4 separate regions of the Homo sapiens genome follow, and regions 2, 3 and 4 are each linked to region 1. Evidence: promoter capture Hi-C in 16 types of primary human blood cells and fetal thymus (Javierre and others, 2016). All regions are on one chromosome and are shown on one strand. Each heading gives the region's core, a stretch centred on a gene start or on the middle of the fragment in contact. The rest is flanking DNA. Distances are from core to core; before and after follow the strand shown. Region 1 holds the start of CD1A (CD1a molecule). Region 2 has its middle 18 kb from the start of PYDC5. Region 3 overlaps PYHIN1 (pyrin and HIN domain family member 1). Region 4 overlaps PYHIN1 (pyrin and HIN domain family member 1).

Region 1 (3,328 bases), core at 518-3,017:
TCATGCTGATTCTGATTGAGCACTTTGCAGAAATGCTTGGCCATATTCCCAGCCACTGGATATGGCAACCATGAATTGTTCTGGAAGCTCACAAAGTCTGATCCTTGATAAGCTAACTGCAAGAAGCTTCCTGAGACCTTTCCAGAGTGCAGCTCACAGCCTCCTGTCACCTGTATCTCAAAAGGATCTGGGGTTATGAAATAGAGGAAAGAGGGAGAAAAAAATATAAAATGAAATGAGTAGAAGCAAAGATTATAGAAGCAGAAGGGGGAAGTGTGCAGGGTTTGACATAATGGAATAAAATTTGGTTTGGTCAGGGATTCAGAGAAAGAGGAATTGGTGGGAGCTGTAGGTGGAGGAAAAGATTAATAACATGAGGAAGAGGGCAAACTGGTCAAAGAAGGTGATGTGAATGCTGTGGGTGAGCAAGGACCTGGTGTAAGAGAACTGGGATTATAACAACTTAGGTTGAATTAAATGCAATGGGTTACAATTGAGTATATATAGAGAGACTGCTGAAGAGAATGAATGAGAAAGTGAGAAAGCTGAAGGTATCTGGTTGTAGGGCAGGCAGAAGGGTGGTCCTGGGATACCTGTAAGAAAAGATAATAATGCACAACCCTGCAATCAATGAGAGAGGAGTTCATAAGTAGCAGAAGTGTTTGGAGAATTAAGGTCTGGATGATAGCCCTTGCCCAAAAGTATGCAATTGCAGTTTTATGGTGGAAAGAATAGAATAAGATACAGAAGAGAGTCAGGCTGTTTCCTAAAGGAATAAGAAACATTGAGACAACCCCTCTCTCCCACCTCACCACTCTCCATGGAGAAAACTGAACTCACATTCAAACTGCAATTCATGGGCGTATCTACGAATTCCCTCAAATGACCGAATGGTGCGTATACGGAATAATGTTTCCAGTTCCTTCCACTCCTCATTGCTGAAGTTTCCCCTGGACCAGGGGCACAGGAAAACGATGGTGCTGGAATTGCTGTCCCAGGTATGAGTCTGCAAATCACTCAGCCAACCTGAGACCAGATTTTGTTTCCAGGAATGGTTGTAAAAGGATGCGATCCAGGTGACATGGAAGGAGAGAGGCTCCTTGAGCCCTGCGACAAAAGAACAGATAGAATGGGGAGAAAGACATTGAGAAAGAGGATGGAGAGAGAAAGGTGCCAGAGTGCGGGAACTCAGAATCTGGAGAAAAGGGGATCCATCATGATCTTAGCAGACATTCACTTGCCACACAGTCCCATGCCTTATCAACCACCTTCATAAGAGCTCAGGGACCTGGAGTCATGGATAGTCAGAATGGAACCAGCCTGGCACTCTCACTTTCCAGGTATATGCTAGGGAAACCACACACACACACACACACACACACACACACACACACACACACACACAGAGAGAGAGAGAGAGACCTTCACCCACCACCCAACTGGGCAGTTGTCAGAGTTCTTACCGTCTGCATTGCCATCACCTGGGAGAACAGCTAACAATGGAAGTAGCAAAAACAGCATATCATTTGCAGATGTTATTTCCTTCTCTCAGAAAAATTGGTCTTTGATTTCTGTTCCAAACAAACCTACCCCACGATATCTCTATTCTGACTTCTTTCTGCAGCCAACAGACAAACCTCCCCTGACTGCAACAAAGAAAATCCACTCCTTCAAAAACCCTGAGATGCCTACTCAGTCTCTCATTTCCCTCTGGTTCTGACTCTCCTCTCTGTTCCAGCTTCTCTCCTTGTCACCAACCTCCAACTTATTCACCTTCCCCTAATTCAACTGCTATGGAACAAGTCTGATGTGGCATTGAAAAGCCACTTAACCACTAAGGACATTTTTTTCTCAATCATACAATAAGAGCATAAAGTGAAATGGCTCCCAGTGTGCTGCCCAATGCTCCCATGTCCCTGCTCTTTTTGATCACTCTGTCCTTTTCAATATTTTCCCATGTATTCTCTTCCCCTGTCTCTTCAGCCCCTTACTACATTCACATTTCTGATTTAACATTGATTTATTTGCTTTTTCAGAGTCTCCTACGACTGCCCTGTGCGACAGTACAAACTAACACCTTTTCTCCATTATTCTTAGAGAAGAGCCAGTAACCATCACAAAAAAAAAAAAAAAAAAAAAAAAAAAAAAAAAAAAAAAAACCACAGGAACACTAAAACATATAAAGAAAATTTCCTCTGTTTGATTTTCATTGATATACATTCACTCACCCAACAGTCTCTCTTAGCACCTGCCTGGAGTCAAGCATCTTGGTACACTTAAGAATATGCAGTGGTTGACAACACAATCACTTTACTGAAGGAGCTTTTTCTCTACTTAGGGAGAAAAACACGCCATGAAATATAAATCTTGGTGTACTGAGTTTTATTATACTGTATACACTCTCTGGATAAAAACAAGGCCTGCTTGAAATAATATTTTCTAAAATGGGGGCTCCTAACTAATGTACGCCAGCCCAGAATTTTGACTTCAATGTTTGACTTGGAGTGTTAGTTCCATACAGTTATCATACTGTATCCCCACCTAACAGAGTATCTCACAAGTGGTAGGTGCTTAGTGAATATTTGTCAAATGAATGAATGAATTCAGTCTATGCATCCATTTTTTAATTATGGAGGTGATATTCAACATGAAACTTTTTAAAGATATCATAAAAGTTACTTGTAACCCTATGTAGTGAGATGAGAATCTCATACAGTTTTATTTAGGATAAAAGTACAAGTTACTGGCATGAGATTTACATAAAAGATCCTGCTATAAATGTCCTATTACTTATAAGAAACTAGTCAGAACTTGTGAGCAGTGAAGTTAATGGAGTATTCCAAAGTCTTTATCCCAGGATCCCTTTTTATTAGTCCTATTTGGATGTTTCAGGGTTGTTTTGTTATAAATGAGTCTTTGCCGGACACATTTACATTCCTCTTTTACGCTGCTTGTAACTGTTGAAGGGCTTCTAAATATATGTTTGTGCTTTGTAGATATCATCCATATAAATGTGTCTGGGCTATTTACTATTTTTTGGTTTTCAAAAAAAAAGTATCTGAAGCTAATTTAGGGGGAAAAAATTTTTTTTCTTGAGACAGGGTTTCACTCTGTTACTCAGGCTGGAGTGCAGTGGAATAATCATAGCTCACTGTAACCTCCAACTCCCGGCCTCAAGCAATCCTCCTGTGTCAGCCTCCCAAAGTGCTGGGATTGTTGGCATGAGCCACCAGGCATGGCCTGCAAATAATTTTTTTATTTGTTTTTTGTTTTGTTTTGTTTTGTTTTGTTTTGAGACAGAGTCTCACTCTGTCACCCAGGCTGGAGT
Region 2 (3,328 bases), core at 367-2,866, 730 kb before region 1:
AATAAAATAATACAAAAGCTTAAAGATAAAATAGCCATTTTAAGAAAGAACCAAACTAACCTACTAGAGCTGAAAACTCACTACAAAAATTTCATAATATAATTGGAAGTACTAACAGCAGAAGCTGAGGAAAGCTGAGGAAAGAAATCTCAGAGCTTGAAGATCAGTTCTTCAAATCAACTCAGTCAGATAAAAATAAAGGAAAAAATAATAAAATATGAACGAAACTTCAAGAAATATGAGTTTATGTAAAGAGACCAAACCTACAACTGATTTGCATCACAGAAAGAGAGGGAGAGAGACCAAGCAACTTGGAGAACATATTTGAAGATATTGTCCCTGAAAATTTACCTGACCTTGCTAGAGAGGTTGACATGTAAATTCAGGAAATTCAGAGTACCCCAGCAAGATATTACACAAGATGACAATCCCTAAGACACATAGTTATCCAATTCTCCAAGATCAAGGTAAATAAAACATATGAAAGGCAGCAAAAGAGAAGAGGCAGATCATGTACAAAGGGAACCCTTATCACACTAACAGTGGACCTTTCAGCAGAAATTTTTCAAGCCAGAAAAGATTAAAGGCCTACATTCAGCATTCTTAAACAAAAGAAATTCTAACCATGATTTCATATCCAGCCGAACCAAGCTTTGTAAGTGAAAAAGAAACATAATCCTTTTCAGACAAACAAACACTAAGCGAATTTGTTACCATTAGGCCTGCCTTATAAGAGGTCCTTCAGGGAGTGCTGAACATGGAAACAAAAGGCTGCTACCTGCCACAAAACAACACACTTAAGTAAATATTCCACTGACACAATATGCAACTATACAATCAAGTCTACATAACAACCAGCTAATAACACTATGACAGGATCAAATCCTTACATATCAATATTAACCTTGAACATAAGCAGGCTAACCACTCCACTTAAAAGGCACAGAATGGTAAGTTGGATAAAGAAGCAAGACTCAATTACATGCTGTCTTCAAGAGACCCACCTTACATGTAAAGACACAGGCTTAAATTAAATGGATGGAGGAATATCTATAAAGCAAATGGAAAACAAACAAAATAGAGCAGGGGTTGCTCTTTTATTTCAGGAAAAAAAAAACAGACCTTAAACCAAAAGCTATCAAAGAGGATGAAGAAGGGCATCACATAATGATAAAAAGTTCAATTCTACAAACAAGACTTAACTATCCTAAAGATGTGTGCATTCAGCACTGGCACAACCAGATTCATAAAACAAGTTCTTAGAGACCTATGAAGAGAACTAGCTAACCTCACAATAATAGTGGGAGAATACAACACCCTACTAACATTGTTAGATAAATCATTGAGGGAGAAAACTAACAAAGATATTCAGGAACAAAATTTCACACTTGACTAAATTGACCTAACAGACATATAAGGAACATTCCACTCAACAACAGAATATACATTCTTCTCATCTGCACATGGCACATACTCTGTGCCACATGCTTGGCCACATGCTTGGCCATAAAGCAATGCTCAGGAAATTCAAAAAACAGAAATTATATCAACCACACTCTCAGATCACAGTGCAACAAAAATACAAATCAATACCAAGAAGATCTCTGAAAATCATAGAAGTATTTGGAAATTAAACAACTTACTCCTGAATGACTTTTGGGTAATAAATTAAATTAATGCAGAAATCAAGAAATCTTTGAAACTAATGAAAACAAAAATACAATATATCAGAGTCTCTGGGACACAGCTAAAGCAGTGTTAAGAGAAAAGTTTATAGCACTAAAGGCCTACATCAAAAAGTCAGAAATATCTTAAATTTATACCTAACATCACATTTACAGGAACTAGAAAAAACAAAAGGAAACCAACCCCCAAACTAGCAGAAGAAAAATAATAATCAAAATCTAAGTTGAACCAAATAAAATTGAGATGTGAAAATTCACAAAAATAATTAAGAAAACTAAAAATTGGTTTTTTGAAAGAATAAGATATATAGACCACTAGCCAGATTAATATACAAAAAAAAAAAAAAAAACAGGAGAAGATCCAAATAAATACAATTAGAAATGACAAAGGGGACATTACCATGGAACCCACAGAAATACAAAAACTCTCAAAGACCATTATGAACAATTTCTATGCTGAAAAACTAGAAAATCTAGAAGAAACAGATAAATTCCTGAAAACATACAACCTGCCAAGATTGAACCAGGAAGACATTGAATACCTAAACAGATCAATAACAAGTTCTGAAATTGAATCCATAATAAAATACCTACAAACCAACAAAAGCCATGGATCAGACAGATTCACATCTGAATTCTACCTGATAGATAAGGAGGAGCTGATACCAATCCTACCAAAATTATTCCAAAATATTGAGGAGCGGAGACTCTGCCCTGAATCATTCTATGAGGTCAGCATTATTCTGATACCAAAACCTGACAGAAACACAAAGGAAAAACAAATTCAGGACAATATGCCTGATAAATATTGATGCAAAAGTCCTCAAAAAAAAATACTAGCAAACTAAATCCAGCAGCACAGCAAAAGCTAAGCCACCATGATCAAGTAAGCTTTACCCCTGGAATGCAAAGTTGGTTCAACATACGCAAATTGGTAAATGTGATTTATCACATAAACAGAACTAAAAACAAAAATCACGTGATTATCTAAATAGATGCAGAAAAGGTTTCAATAAATTCAACATTCTTTCATGTTAAAAACCCTCAACAAACTAGGTATCAAAGGAACATACCTCAAAATGAGACATCTATGACAAAACCACAGCCAACATCATATCACAAATAGGCAAAAGCTGAAATCATACCTCTTGAGAACCAGAACAAGACAAAGTTGCCTACTCTCACTACTCCTGGTTCAACATAGCACTGGAAGTTCTAGCCAGAGCAGTCAGGCAAGAGAAAAAAAAATAAAAGACGTCCAAATAGAAAGAAAGGAAGTCAAACTACCTCCTTTTGCAGGTAATATGATTCTATACCCAGAAAACCCCATAGCCTTTGCCCCAAATTTCCCAGAAATTATAAACAACTTCAGCAAAGTCTCAGGATACAAAATCAATGTACAAAAATTAGTAGCATTTCTATACAACTAATAATACCCAAGCTGAAAGCCAAACCAAGAACATAGTTCCTTTCACAATAGCCACACAAAGAATAAACACATAGGAATACAGCTAACCTGGGAGGTAAAAGATTTCTACAACAAGAGTTACAAAATGCTGCTAAAAGAAATTAGAGATGATACAAACAAATGGAAAGACATTTCATTCTCATGGATAGGAAGAATCAATATTGTTAAAATGGCT
Region 3 (3,328 bases), core at 387-2,886, 710 kb before region 1:
TGCTTTGGGAAATCTGGCCATTTTTAATAATATTGATTTTTCCTATCCATGAGCATGGAACTTTTCCTATTTGTTTGTGTTCCTTCATTTCTTTGAGCAGTGTTTTGTAATTCTTATTGTTAATAACTACCTCCTTGGTTAGCCTCTCTGTGATTGCCTAACCTCTCCAAGCTTCAGTTTCCTTATGTAAAAAATGAAATGATTGCCTCATTATTTTGATTTGAAGATTATGAGAAAAATGGATCCAAAGTGATGTACACAGTGCCTGTCACATAAGACACAATATACAAAACAGACTACATTCTAAGAAAACCCTCTCATCCCACAAATAGCCTGCTCTAGAAAAAAATGTAGTATGGTGATTTCCAACCTTGATGAATACAATAAATCCTTTTGTCAATTTTTGTGGCAATTGTGAACGGAATTGCATTCCTGTTTTGACTCTCAGCTTGGATGTTGTTGGTTTATAGGAATGTGTACTGATTTTTGTATATTGATTTTGTATCCTGAAACTTTGCTGAAGTTGTTTATGAGATCAAAGAGCTTTTCTGCAGAGACTATGGGTTTTTCTAAATACAGGATTTTGTCATCTGCAAAAAGTGATAGTTTGACTTTCTCTTTTCCTACTTGGATGCCTTTTATTTCTTTATCTTGCCTGATTCCTCTGGCCGGGATTTCTAGTACTCTATTGAATAGGAATGGTGAGGGAGGCCATCCTTGTCTTGTTCCAGTTTTCAAGGGGAGTGCTTCTAGCTTTTGTCCATAAAGTATGATGTTGGCTGTGGGTTTGTTGGAAATGGTTCTTATTATTTTGAAGTATGTTCATTCAATGTCTAGAGTATTTAGGGTTTTTAACATGAAGGGATGTTGCATTTTATTGAAAGCTGTTTCTGCATCGATTGAGATGATTATGTAGCTTTTTGGTTCTGTTTATGTGATGAACCACATTTATTGTTTTGTATATGTAACTTTGTATTCCAGAGATAAAGCCTACTTGATTGTGTTGGACTAGCTTTTTGAAGTACTGCTAGATTTTGTTTACTTGTATTTTTTTGAGGATTTTTGCATGTATGTTCATCAAGAATAACCACCTGAAGTTTTCTTTTTTTGTTGTGTCTCTGCCTTTTGTTATCAGGATGATGCTGGCCTCATAGAATGAATTGGAGAGGAGTCCCTCCTCCCCAGTTTTTTGAATAGTTTTAGTAGGAATGGTACCAGCTCATCTTTATGCATCTGATAGCATTTGGCTGTGAATCCATCTGGTCATGGGCTACTTTTAGTTGGTAGACTTTTTCTTACTGATTCAATTTCAGAACTTGTTATTGGTCTATTCAGTTATTCAGTTTCCTCCTGGGTTAGTCTTCAGAGGTTGTATGTGTCTAGGAATTTATCCATTTCTTCTAGGTTTTATAGCTTGTGTGCATAGAGGTGATTATAGTAGTCTCTGAAGGATTGTTGTATTTCTGTGGGGTCAGTGGTAATTTCCCTTGGTCATTTCTAATTGTGTTTATTTAGATCTTGTCTCTTTTTTTAGTCTATCTAGCAATCTTTCTTATTAATTTTTTCAACAGATGAACTCCTGGATTCGTTGATCTTTGTCTGTTTTTTTCACATCTCAATTTCTTTTAGTTTAGCTCTGATATTGGTTATTTCTTTTCTCCTGCTGGCTTGGGGATTGATTGTTCTTGCTTTTCTAGTTCTTCTAGTTGTGATGTTGGGTTGTTAATTTGAGATCTTTTAAATTTTTTGATGTGAGCGCTTAGTGCTACAAACCTCTCTCTTAAGACTGACTTAGCAATGTCCCAGAGATTCTGATGTATTTTATCTTTGTTCTCATTAGTTTCAAAGAATTTCTTTATTTCTGCCTTTATTATTCACCCAAAAGTCATTCAGGAGAAGGCTGTTTAATTTCCATGTAATTGTATGGTTGGAGCCATTTTCTTACTATAGATTTATACTTTTATGCACTGTGTTCTGAGAAGGTGGTTGGTATGATTCTGTTTTCTTGAATTTGCTGAGGATTGTTTTATATCTGATCGTGTGGTCGACTTCAGAGTGTGTGCTATGTGGCAGTAAGAAGAATGTGTGTTCCATTGTTTTAGGTTGAGAGTTCCATAAATGTCCATTAGGTCCATCTTGTCAAGTATTGAGTGCAGTTCCTGAATATCTTTGCTATTTTTTTTTGTTTGCCTGAATGATCGATCTAATACTGCCAGTGTGGTATTGAAGTCTCCCACTATTATTGTATGTGACTCTAAGTCTCTTTGTGGGTCTCTGAGAACTTGTTTTATGAGTCTAGGTGCTCCTGTGTTGTGTGTGTATATATTCAAGGTAGTTAGGTCTTCTTGTTGAATGAAAGCCTTTACCATTATGAAATGCCCTTCTTTGTCTTTTTAACTCTTTGTTGGTTTAAAGTCTGTTTTTTCTGAAATTATGATGGCACCCTCTGTTTTTTTTTTCTGCTTTCTATTTGTTTGGTAGATTTTTCTTTGTCCTTTTATTTTGAGCCAATGGGTGTCATTGCATGTGAGACAGGTCTCTTGAGGACAGTATACCATTGGGTCTTGCTTCTTTATCCAGCCTGCCACTCTGTGACTTTTAAGTGGAGTGTGTAGCCTGTTTACATTAAAGGTTAATATTGACATCTGCAGATTTGATCCTGTCATTGTGTTGTTAGCTGATTATTATGCAGACTTGTTTCTGTGGTTGCTTCATAGTGTCACTATTCTGTGTACTTAATTGTGTTTCTGTAGTGTCTGGTAATGTTCTTTCCTTTTCATACTTAGTGTTCCTTTCAGTATCTCTTATAAGGCAGGTCTGGTGGTAACAAATTCCCTCAGCATTTGCTTGTCTGAAAAGGATCTCATTTCTTTTTCATTTTTGATGCTTTGTTTGGCTGTATGTGAAATTCTTGCTTGGAAATTATTTTCTTTAAGAATGCTGAATATAGGTCCCAAGCTCTTCTGGCTTGTCAGGCTCCTGTTGAAAGTTCTGCTGTAGTCTGATAGGGTTCCTTTTGTAGGTGACCTTCCCAGTGACCTGCCCCTTCTCTCTAGCTGTCTTTAACATTTTTAAATTCATTTCGACCTTGGAAAAGCTTATGATTATGTGTCTTGGGGATGGTCTTTTTGTGTAGTATCTCACAGGATTTCTCTATGTACCCTGAATTTGAAAGTTTGCCTCTCTAACAAGGTTGGGGAATTTTTCATGGATGATATCCTGAAATATGTTTTAAAGGTGTTTGCTTTCTCCTTGTCTCTCTCAGGGACACCAATGAGTTCTAGACTTTGTCTCTTTACATAATCCCATTTTTCTCAGAAGATTTTTC
Region 4 (3,328 bases), core at 469-2,968, 690 kb before region 1:
GAATGTGGGTCATAACACACTCTTTGTCTTCATCTCTACTTCTCTGGCCATTACCCCTCCCATAGGTGGAGCAAGACAAGATACTAGCCCTCTTGTGGTCAGCAATCGTTGCACAAATAAATATCTTTTAGATAGCAAAGACTATCATGTGGTAGTATCTCACTGTATGCATTCAATAAATACATGGGTGATTTAATTTTATCTAGAGATTGTACACAGTTAGGGATTAGAAGAGAAACTCTTTCAACAATCTAATGATCCTTGTAATTTATATTTGGGAGATAAGAGTCATGGGACCCAGGATATTGTACCTTGGTGAAGGAACTGCTGGATGGGGTTGTTGGTGGCATCTGAGGAGTCTTGAGATGGCTTTCAGGTAGGGTTGTGCTGGCCTCTGAAGGTTTTGGATGCTGACTCTGTTCCTGGGGTAGTGCCATGCTCCTGGAGTCATGGCTTCTCTGGTTTGTATTTTTCTGTATCTGAAAGTATTCATTTTTTTGTTTAATGTTTTTTAATATTAGGGAAAGCAAAACATCTTTAAATATGTGAGAATATCATCCTTTATTAAATTCTAATAGATGTCATTACCTTCAAAGATTGCCTCTATCTAATGTATTCCTCCAGGCAACTGCCAATATATTTTTTTGCTAAAATGTAAAATGATCTAACATTCTTAGTAAAATAAAATCTTTATTCACTTATTTTTTAAAATGAAATCCATTTTTGTCTTTATGGCATAAGACAGATGAGAAAAGGGCTGCTTGTTACCTGTCTTGCATGAATTTCTCATACCTTTCCACATATGCCAAAGTTGTACAGAACTCACTATGCTTTTTCTCACTTTTAATGTTTGTATGCAACATTTTCTCTGCCTGAAGTCTTTCCAATGTCTGTCTTTACCTTGTTAAGAGCAGTAGTATCTAGTGCATACTGGTTTGTCACAAGGTACAAGGAAGGCAATGGGCTACAAAATGTATATCCATGATCTCATTTAATTTTCAAACCAATTGTGTGAGGAACATGTAAGCTATTTCTCCAATATCATGCAACCAATGAGCAAGATATATACCAAGCCTATCTTACTGCAAAGAACTTGGTTTTGATAACTAACTGCAATTAGGCCCGTGGCCTCCTAGTTTCTTCAAATATTTTAATATTTAGCACAAGTTTCATGTCTTTTTGAAGAAGATAATTGTCCATCTCTTAATATATTTTAATAATTTTCTCTATTTAAATGTAAGCGCAAGGGCATTATTTGGTTTCTCATGAACTCTGCAGAATTTTAAGTGTAAAACAACAGAAGTATGGCTTCCTAAAACTTAAAGCAAATGATTTTCATCTTTGGAAAACTAATATTTGTTTCTTTATTTCTCACCTGGATGAAACTATGCATTTCTGACATCAGTTTTGACATATTTTCCCTCTTTCTCAGTCGAAAGCAGAAGAGTCGAAGCTTATCTCCTTTTTCACAGGGGATATTGTGGCATTCTCCTTTTCCTACTACAGCCATACTTCCTGTTTTATCCTGAATTTCATAGATTGTCGTCTTCCTATTTACAATTTTCTGCAACAAAAAATTAATATCATGTTTGTGAGAACATAGTAACTACCGTGCATATAGGAAAGTCTCTTGTGACAGATTAAAAACAAGATGCAAGACAGCAACTCCTAGTACTGTATCGACATACAATACATATGCCTTAGTCTAGACCATCTCACAGAGCTCTCCCTCAATATCCTTTTTGTTTAAGTCCTTAATGTTCTAAGTATTTCTATTACAGTTCTAGAGCAATGAGTTATCTTCCCATTTTCAACTTCTTTCACCTCCAAGACTGCTATGCTTCCCAAAGCACCTTGATACAAAGGAAACTGAAGTCCTTGGTAGGCTTATTTGGCCTCTGCCCCTATGCAAAAAGAATGGGCATCTGTCACAACTCATCATTCACTATGTTATGAGGAATCTGTAATAAAAAACAAGCTTCTAGTAACTATCTAATTACTTTTTTGACTTTCTCCATTTACTGAATCTCTTTCAACATCTGCTCCCATCCTGAACTCAGGTCCTTAAGCTCAAACATTCCAATTTCTTGCTCATCAAGGCTATTACTCATCGTTCTGGATGTGTATTTCTAAGAATTTCTTTAAGAGTGTGTACAGAAAGCAATGCTGGTAAAATAAGAGGTCATTCTAGAAAATAAATATAACAGATCATGAGCTGTCAGTCATCTAAGAAATTACTGGACTCAATAGCCAGGTATAGATGGTTTTCTGAGTTGGAATGTCTCAAGCTAACTAGTTTCGTGAATTTTGACAGTAACATATCAGAAAATTTTTTCTGCTCTTTTTTTGCGACATATCTAATATACGAGTACAGATTACCTGATTCTCCAAGTATCACCCAAATTTATATTTCTCAGCCCTTCAATACTTTTTGATGAATGCATTTCATTTGGTCAGAACATTGTCCTACCTGTTTACTGCAATTGATTTCCAGGTATAAACAGTCAATTCATTTCTTGCCCTGATTGTCAAAACTGGAACTCAAGCCTCAAAGAACAATACTGTATTCAAAATGAAAACAATGTGATTTTTGCTACAATTGAGATTATAATCAAAGAAATAAGTTTAGTATTATGTTTGTATGGATCTAGATCCCTCACTATCTTTGATCGTTATGACTCATAATAGATAGTCACAGCTGATGAAGTCTCAAGGTTTCTCAGTGAATGTTTTACTAAAGAACTTCAGGGTGATATTTTGGAAAGAATGAGAACATTAATAGTTCTCCTAATCCTGGTCTTAACCTCGAAGAAGACTTTATCTACTTGTCAGTAGTTTTGAGAGAGTCCTGAGTTTTAATGTTAAGTAATATGCAAACTTCCATTTAGCACATCAGGGCTTTTAATTTCAAGTGTTATTGTAGAAAATGCCACAAAATAGCTTTGATGCCTTACCGTATGTAGCATAAATAATCCATATACAATATATCCTGAAGTTTGTTTGTGAAGAATATTGATCTTCGGAATTTTCTTTGCTCTTCTGATGATGTCCTTTGGAACCTCAAACGTTTGGTCAGGACCAGCTTCAGATACAGAAGAGGCTTCATTCACCTCTAGGAGACTATTACGTTTGGAATAATTTGATATAATGATGATTCTCTTTTTAATGAATTTCCTCTTCAAGTTGATGTTTAAAACCTTCACATGAAAGAACTGTGTCTGCGTAGCCACTGTAGCATGAAACATTCTTCTTTGCTCATTTTCTGAGGATTCATATTTAAATACTTTTGTTGCATTTAGTACCATCGCGATTATTGGGTCTTCTCGGA

Evidence for each region. Contacts are between HindIII fragments. The CHiCAGO score rates a contact against its expected background, and 5 or more counts as called.
Region 2: a fragment that was not itself captured here is called in contact with the fragment with the promoter of CD1A in region 1 in 3 of 17 cell types (endothelial precursors, total CD4 T cells and naive B cells); the score reaches 5.7 in endothelial precursors.
Region 3: a fragment that was not itself captured here is called in contact with the fragment with the promoter of CD1A in region 1 in 1 of 17 cell types (endothelial precursors); the score reaches 7.0 in endothelial precursors.
Region 4: a fragment that was not itself captured here is called in contact with the fragment with the promoter of CD1A in region 1 in 1 of 17 cell types (endothelial precursors); the score reaches 6.8 in endothelial precursors.

Annotation. Positions count from the first base shown.
Region 1 is chr1:158,252,863-158,256,190 of GRCh38, reverse strand. CD1A (CD1a molecule) reads right to left here and starts at 1,767. Exons shown (of 6, transcript NM_001763.3): 1 at 1,464-1,767; 2 at 841-1,107; 3 at 1-187. The coding sequence starts at 1,521. The HindIII fragment of the contact is 5,152 bases long and covers 129-3,328 here.
Region 2 is chr1:158,982,736-158,986,063 of GRCh38, reverse strand. It overlaps a transcript of PYHIN1 not described here. Among named protein-coding and RNA genes, the nearest start is that of PYDC5, 18 kb to the left of the region's middle. The HindIII fragment of the contact is 1,925 bases long and covers 654-2,578 here.
Region 3 is chr1:158,964,198-158,967,525 of GRCh38, reverse strand. All of the region lies in intron 7 of PYHIN1 (pyrin and HIN domain family member 1), which reads right to left. Among named protein-coding and RNA genes, the nearest start is that of PYHIN1, 34 kb to the right of the region's middle. The HindIII fragment of the contact is 2,926 bases long and covers 174-3,099 here.
Region 4 is chr1:158,942,026-158,945,353 of GRCh38, reverse strand. It overlaps PYHIN1 (pyrin and HIN domain family member 1), which reads right to left. Exons shown (of 9, transcript NM_152501.5): 5 at 2,955-3,328; 6 at 1,376-1,564; 7 at 312-479. Among named protein-coding and RNA genes, the nearest start is that of PYHIN1, 12 kb to the right of the region's middle. The HindIII fragment of the contact is 525 bases long and covers 1,456-1,980 here.